Regions from separate parts of the Homo sapiens genome. Here region 1 is linked to region 2. The links are contacts of gene promoters, found by promoter capture Hi-C in blood cells and fetal thymus (Javierre and others, 2016). All regions are on one chromosome and are shown on one strand. Each heading gives the region's core, a stretch centred on a gene start or on the middle of the fragment in contact. The rest is flanking DNA. Distances are from core to core; before and after follow the strand shown. Region 1 holds the start of DPH6 (diphthamine biosynthesis 6). Region 2 holds the start of NSMCE3 (NSE3 component of SMC5/6 complex).

Region 1 (2,937 bases), core at 339-2,838, 6.3 Mb after region 2:
TAATACATAATTATATATAATGCATATATATAGAATACATAGGCATCTGTATCATAAGCATACAGGTAAATGCTTACGTATTCATACTTACAGCATATGTCCTTACAGCTCTTACGCTTCAGCAAGAATTTTCCAACATTGCTTTTTTAGCAAACTTTTTTTATTATAAAGCAACATATGCACATTACAGGTTATTTAGTGTAACTGACTCTACCAATCTTCTCTCCTCCCCTCCAATACTTCTAAGTCTTTGTTTGTTGTGCTTTACTTTAATCGTTAAACTTTTGGCAAGCGATGTAAATTTGAATTATTCACTTCCTGGGGTACTTTTAATTCTTAAAATAAGACACAATGGTTAAAGCTTAATCATTTATGTTACAGAGGACATTTACTGAACAACAATAATTATTGTGACATTATGGTCTAGTCTCCTAAAAATGACATTGAAGGAAAGGGAACCGGAATATTCCAGACACTACAGTAGGTCTGAAATCTCATATCAAGTCCTTAATAGGTCAAAACTTACAGCCAGTATCAATTACCTAAGGGACTTAACGAAAACGTTTATGAAATCTTCAATTGGATTACAAAAGCAAGCACATCGTTGCACTGTATCTAAGACACTCTACAGGGCAAAATCTCATGAAACAAGTATTTAAGTAGTCTAACTTTTTAATGTTGCTAGTGTGTTCCCTTCTGCCTCAGTTTATAGATTGAGTATGGAAATATTTAAGCAGGTTTGTTTTTGGTTTGTCAGTCACAGGACTTATTTAGACACTTAAATTTATGATTTGGTTACTACAGACATCAAACTCCTTTTGGAATACGGAGTATAGGGTAAGGTCACTCTAAAGCAATGATGAGAGTCCGAAGCAACAGCAACTGGATCTAGCATAAGACTAGTACAATTCGGTCTCTACCACGAAGAGAGATCTCTGTACTTGAGTGCCCAAAGGCAGAAACACACACATGCCATAAGCAATCCACATCTGTGAAGATGAGGGAGGGGTGGACTTCTTGGGATGGGCGGAAACACTTACAACTAGGGAGGAAGCCAGGCTGCGGCGGACCCAGCTGACCAAAGGAACTACAGAAGAGGACGAAGAAAGCGAGGGGGAAAGGGCGAGGGTTATTAACTGAGTTGATGGAATAAGGTAGTGGCTCCAAACTTCACGGCTCATTAGAGCTTGAAAAAAAAAAATCAGACGCCGGGTCGCACAGAAGTAATTAAACCAATCCCTCTGGCGGTGGGGCCCAGGCGTCGGTACTTTTTTTAATTTCCCACTTGAATCCAATGGGAATCCAAGTTTAAGGGCTAGAAGACCAGAGAGCGACAGACAGGGAGGAGGCGCGCCAGCCAGGGGCCGAGGCACATGCGGGCCGGCAACAGCGAAGGCTCCGCCTCTTCCTGTGGCTCGGAGGAGCCGCGGAACCCCCAACGCGCGACTCAGACGGAGACACCCACTCTTTCGGCGCTAGCGGCGGCTGGAAGGGACGAGAGCCTGGCCTAGGAGGAAGGAGGCGGCTCCAGGACCGCATTACCTGATCAGAGCCGCGACCCTCATGCTGGGCGCAGTGCGCGTGCGTGCGGCGAGCGCGGGCGGGAGCCAGGAGGTCGCGCCGCAGCTCGCGTGACGCACCGCGGGGCCTCGCCCGGGTGTTCGCTCCGCCGCCTGTCCGCGGATCGGCGCTGCGAGCCCCGCGGCTGCCTGCGGGACACCTGAGCGCGGAGGGTGCGGCACCTTGGCACCTTGACCCTGTGGCAGGGACATCTCGGCCCAGGAAAGAATGAGGTTTAGGCACGGCCTAACCACCTAAGTGAGGGCACTGAAGCTGCCGGGGGAAGGGCAAGGTCCGCGTTGCAGAGCCCAAGCCCAGTGGCGCAGGATTTGTTTTGGTAAGAGGGGATTTAGCGTCCCAATTGCTGCAAATTGACACAGTTGCGGACGTGCAAGCGCAGAAGAAATTTGTCCTTCCTCACCCCACAGAACAGAAACAACTGTACACTTCTGCTTTTTAACTTACATCTCCTCTGTCCTCCAAACCTGTGTGTCCAGATGTGAAACTCAGATCCCCAGGGGCTGTGGTAATTTTTAAATCTGGGGCTAGCCCCCCCCACCTCTAGGCCCTCTGTGGCTTTGGCTCTTGGTCAAGCTTGTGTATTTGACAAGGCCAGGCCAGGCTCTTCACCAAAGAGCAATGGCCTTGCAGAAAGAAAATCTAGCTTCTAAGTTTATTTGCCAAGTATGTATTGAGTGCCTTTCGTGTACCAGGCACTGTTTTAGACTCTGTGGATACAACCGTAAATAAAACAAAAACCCGGCATTCCGGGCATAGAGCTTAAATGGGGATGGAGAGAACAGACAATACATATCTTAAAGGTAAATAGTCTGTTGAAGAGTGAAAAGTGCTATTGGAAAGGGGCGGGGTGCGGTGGGGGAGAGTCAGGAGAGAGGTGGAGAGGCAAATTGCAGAATTAAATCGTGTCTATGTAGGCCTTATTGGTAAGATGAGAGTTGAGCCAATTTAAATAAGGAGAGTTCGCTATGTGTATGATTGGGGTGTGCTCCAGACAAGAAAAAAAAATCGAAGGCTCTAGGTGCGTTGTGTGTTTGTGGAAGATTAAGGCAGATCCGTGTTGCTGGAGCAGATTGAGCAAAGCAGAGAGTAGTGGAGAGCAGGTTAAGGTGATGGAGGGGAAGGATTATATAGGGTCTTGTAGGTAATTGCAGACTTTTGAAGGGTGTGACTTAAAATTTTAAAAGGATTGCAGTGTTGAGAATCCACCTATTAGGAAGCTGTTACAGTGTTCCAGTAGAGAGATGGCGGAGCCTAGAATCAACATGGTGAATTTGGTGAGAAGTAAGAGGATTCCAGCTCTATTTTGAAGATAGAGCCAATAGAATCAAATTCGATATGGGATACAAGAGAAAGAAA
Region 2 (3,328 bases), core at 404-2,903:
GTATTTATTGTAATAACTACAGTAGCAAGAAGAAAAAAACGAAGTGGAACTACGTGTTTAGCAGCAGAGCTGAATAATTATGAATATAAACAATTACTATTGGGAGAAAATACATTACACTCATTGCTTGGAACCATGAATAATACTTATATATGTACGAAATATAGAAAAATAAAATAGGTTAACATAATAAGGATATAGGCAATTATTTTTTTTAATTTTATAAAAACTTTTATTTTTCCTTACAAACTGGGGTAGTTAGGAGACCTGATAATAGCTTTTTTATTTTCTTGGCACCAAAGCAACTTACTTATGTGTTCCTTCTTGCATTATCTGTTCCAGATCATAGTCAAGTTTTCCAATTCGTTTTACTAAGCTAGCAAAATTTTTTATACCAAAAAGAGTAAAATCAAAACAAATGCTCCTTTGTTTATAGATGAAAATCTGGAGCAAAATAACACAACATTAAAAAAACAAAACTTTGCAAACACATCCTAAAGCTACACACATTGAAGCGTTTACAGCAATATGCTCCCTGGGTTCGTTCTCCCTTCCCCCAATCCTCTAAACTGTGCCTTTGGGTCTCAGACCCTTGTCCCGGGGGTCCCTCTGAATCCACCTTTCAAGAGGATGGAGCTGGGCCACTAGGCTGAGGTCTGGCCCTGTTCTCCTCATCTGCCAAAGCCTCACAGTACTGCGCTGGCCAGTCCTTGGGGTCTTGATTATGGACCTTGGCCACAAACTTAAGAACTTTCATCTTGCTGGTTTCCAGGTTGGTTCGCGGGCCCCACTGGAATTCGTAGTCGACGGGGTCGGTGTGGGGTATCCGCCGGTATTCCAGGTAACGCTGTCGCACAAAGTCCTCAGTAATGAGTTTCTTTGGATCTCCGAAAATTAAATGCTTCTTGGTGGGGTAGACCCCTAAGCGCCGCAGAAAGTCCCAGGCTTCAGTTTCCTTGATGGTGTTGCCCTTCATAAAGATGAGCCCTAAGACGATCATCAGGAGGCCCGTAGTGGGCGTGCCTTGGTCACCCCTCATCTCGGCATCCTCCTCCACAGGCTCCAGGGTGTTGATGAGGATGTAAGTGTTGCTCTTGGGTTCAAGTTCCACCAGCTTATACCCGAAGACGTACTGGAGGCGCTCGGCGGCCCGTTTGAAGAGGTCGGGGAAGATGTCCTTGTAGTCCCCGATGACGTGCTTCAGTATGTCGGCCCGCTTGATCGGAATCTTCTTCTGGTCTTTAATCAGCAAGAACTGCACCAGCTCGGACACTTTCAGCTCCAGCTGCTTCTGGCTCCTGGGCCCCACGGCGGGGGCGGCCTGGGCCCGGCGGGCGCCCTGAGGCGAGGGGCCCTGCGACCCCTGCGAGCCGCCCGGCCCGCGGGACGTGCTCGGGGCCTCCTCGGCAAAGCCGTCTCTGAGAACCCGGGCGTCTTCCCCGGCCCGCGAAGCCCCGGGGTTTCCGCTATGGCTCCAGTCTCTGTCCCTCTCGGCCTGGCCGCCAGAGCGGCCCCGGTTCCTCGGTTTTTGCAACATGTCTCCGGCGGCAGGTGCCGGCGCACACTCCGGTAGGCAAGCAGCCGCGGCGGGGATTGCGGGTCGGCGACCCGCTAACGCCGGTGCCTGGAGGCGCGCGCAGTGTCGGCTGAGACTGCGTGCTGCGTCATGAAGCCTGCGCCTTGCGTCAGGGCGGCTGGGCGGTGCGCCTGCGCGGCTGCGGCGGGTACCAAAAGGAACAGCGTTTTCCGTGCAGCCCTGCAGGTCCGGGCGATGATTTTTAGTATAGTGAAGTGTTGTTACCAAACCATGCAAACAGAGAGCGAGAACCGAAACTCCTAAACAAGTGTGTCGCTAAATTCAGACCACACAGGCTCAGGCAAGTTTTACAGACAGTATTATGAGTTTCTAAATCGGGAGCATTTGTAAACGGAAAGAATTCAGAGGATGAACGTGTGAGAAAAAAAAAAGGTGAAGAGGAAGGGCCGACCGTGGAAGTAAAGTAAAAACATTTATTTCTACACAAAATGTAGAAGGACATAAAAGACCCAGAGGGCTCTTAGTTTTCGTCCCTCCACCCAATTTCATACCCTCCATCCCACTGCCCCCAGTTACTTTCTCTAATGCCCCGTGGAGTCTGTTAAAAACCAAAGTCGGCTGCAGGCTTTCTGCGCAAGCAGGACTTCAGTTTCACTATTTCCGTATTTATATTCTCTGCATTAAACTCCTTTAGCTAGACAACTATGAGAAGACCACAAAAAACGTGTCAGTATTAGGTAAATGTTTTAGCTTGGTCACATGGGTTTATCTTTTGGAAAACAACTGCTTTCGTCACAACCACAATTTTAGCAGAAATGGGTAAGAGGAATGCTGCAAACAAACGTGCACTCTCAAGAGATTACTACTTAATTTGGGGCATCACTGATCAAGAATTGCAATAATGTGGAGCTCTTAAATTTCTTAATTCATAATATATTAGCTTTGAGGAAAAAAAAGAGAACACTGGGGGATTTATCTCTCATCTATGATGTGATATACAGTCTCTACTGTATATTTTAATTGTGCAACTCAAGTAGCCAAAATGAGTCATTTCATTAACTCAAACCATCAGCAGTCTGCTGCCATGACTTCTACAGATCTTAGCAAATTTGTTTCTTCTCTATTTACTTGCAAAGAAGAAACTGAATTTCCCTGTGTCTTTTTAAAGCTACCCAGAAAGTGGATAAACTCTTCAAAGAACCAAATTGAGTTCCTCTTTAATGCAAATATATTCAAAGGAAAGCAATTTAGAACACATTATCTGAGTAATAGCATCAAACACAACCTTATTAAAATTTTGTTAATTGTTAGTAGCATAACACTTTTGTTTGTAATTCAGTAGGAAAATGCAATCTGATAATGGCACTGGAACTGCAATAGTAAATGTAAAATCATATTCCATGAACTAATGCAAGTATGCTAAAATCTGGTATGCAATGAGTAATAACTTACTGTTCCACACAAGATGCAACTATATCCTCAGGCATCAATTTTAATGACAAAGGCCTACTATGAAAAACAAATATATTATCAAGGCATTCATTTTTTTACAATGAGAAAATTCATCTGCTTCAGTTTCCTTGCAAATTAAAATCTGGACTTAGGTTCATAGAAGCTTCCTGCCATCTAGAATTCTGCAAAAGGTCCCTACTGCAGGATGTGGATGTTGTATTGAGGGAATAGAGAGACCGTCTCATATTGTTTTATATTGTTTTATACTCAGTACCTGTTTTAAGAAAAAACAACAAGGAAGTAAAACCAAATACAGGCAGCCCAGCGCCAGGCCCAAAA

Evidence for each region. Contacts are between HindIII fragments. The CHiCAGO score rates a contact against its expected background, and 5 or more counts as called.
Region 1: the fragment with the promoter of DPH6 here is called in contact with the fragment with the promoter of NSMCE3 in region 2 in 1 of 17 cell types (total CD4 T cells); the score reaches 5.4 in total CD4 T cells.

What each region holds. Positions count from the first base shown.
Region 1 is chr15:35,544,577-35,547,513 of GRCh38, forward strand. It overlaps DPH6 (diphthamine biosynthesis 6), which reads right to left and starts at 1,589. Exons shown (of 9, transcript NM_080650.4): 1 at 1,543-1,589. The coding sequence starts at 1,565. DPH6-DT (DPH6 divergent transcript) reads left to right here and starts at 1,619. Exons shown (of 3, transcript NR_038251.1): 1 at 1,619-1,897. RefSeq lists an enhancer at 590-1,524 and silencers at 1,572-1,711, 2,012-2,061. The HindIII fragment of the contact is 1,793 bases long and covers 360-2,152 here.
Region 2 is chr15:29,268,169-29,271,496 of GRCh38, forward strand. It overlaps NSMCE3 (NSE3 component of SMC5/6 complex), which reads right to left and starts at 1,654. Exons shown (of 1, transcript NM_138704.4): 1 at 1-1,654. The coding sequence starts at 1,537. The coding sequence ends at 623. The region is part of intron 2 of ENTREP2 (endosomal transmembrane epsin interactor 2); the gene reads right to left. RefSeq lists enhancers at 949-1,450, 1,451-1,950. The HindIII fragment of the contact is 8,019 bases long and covers 1-3,150 here.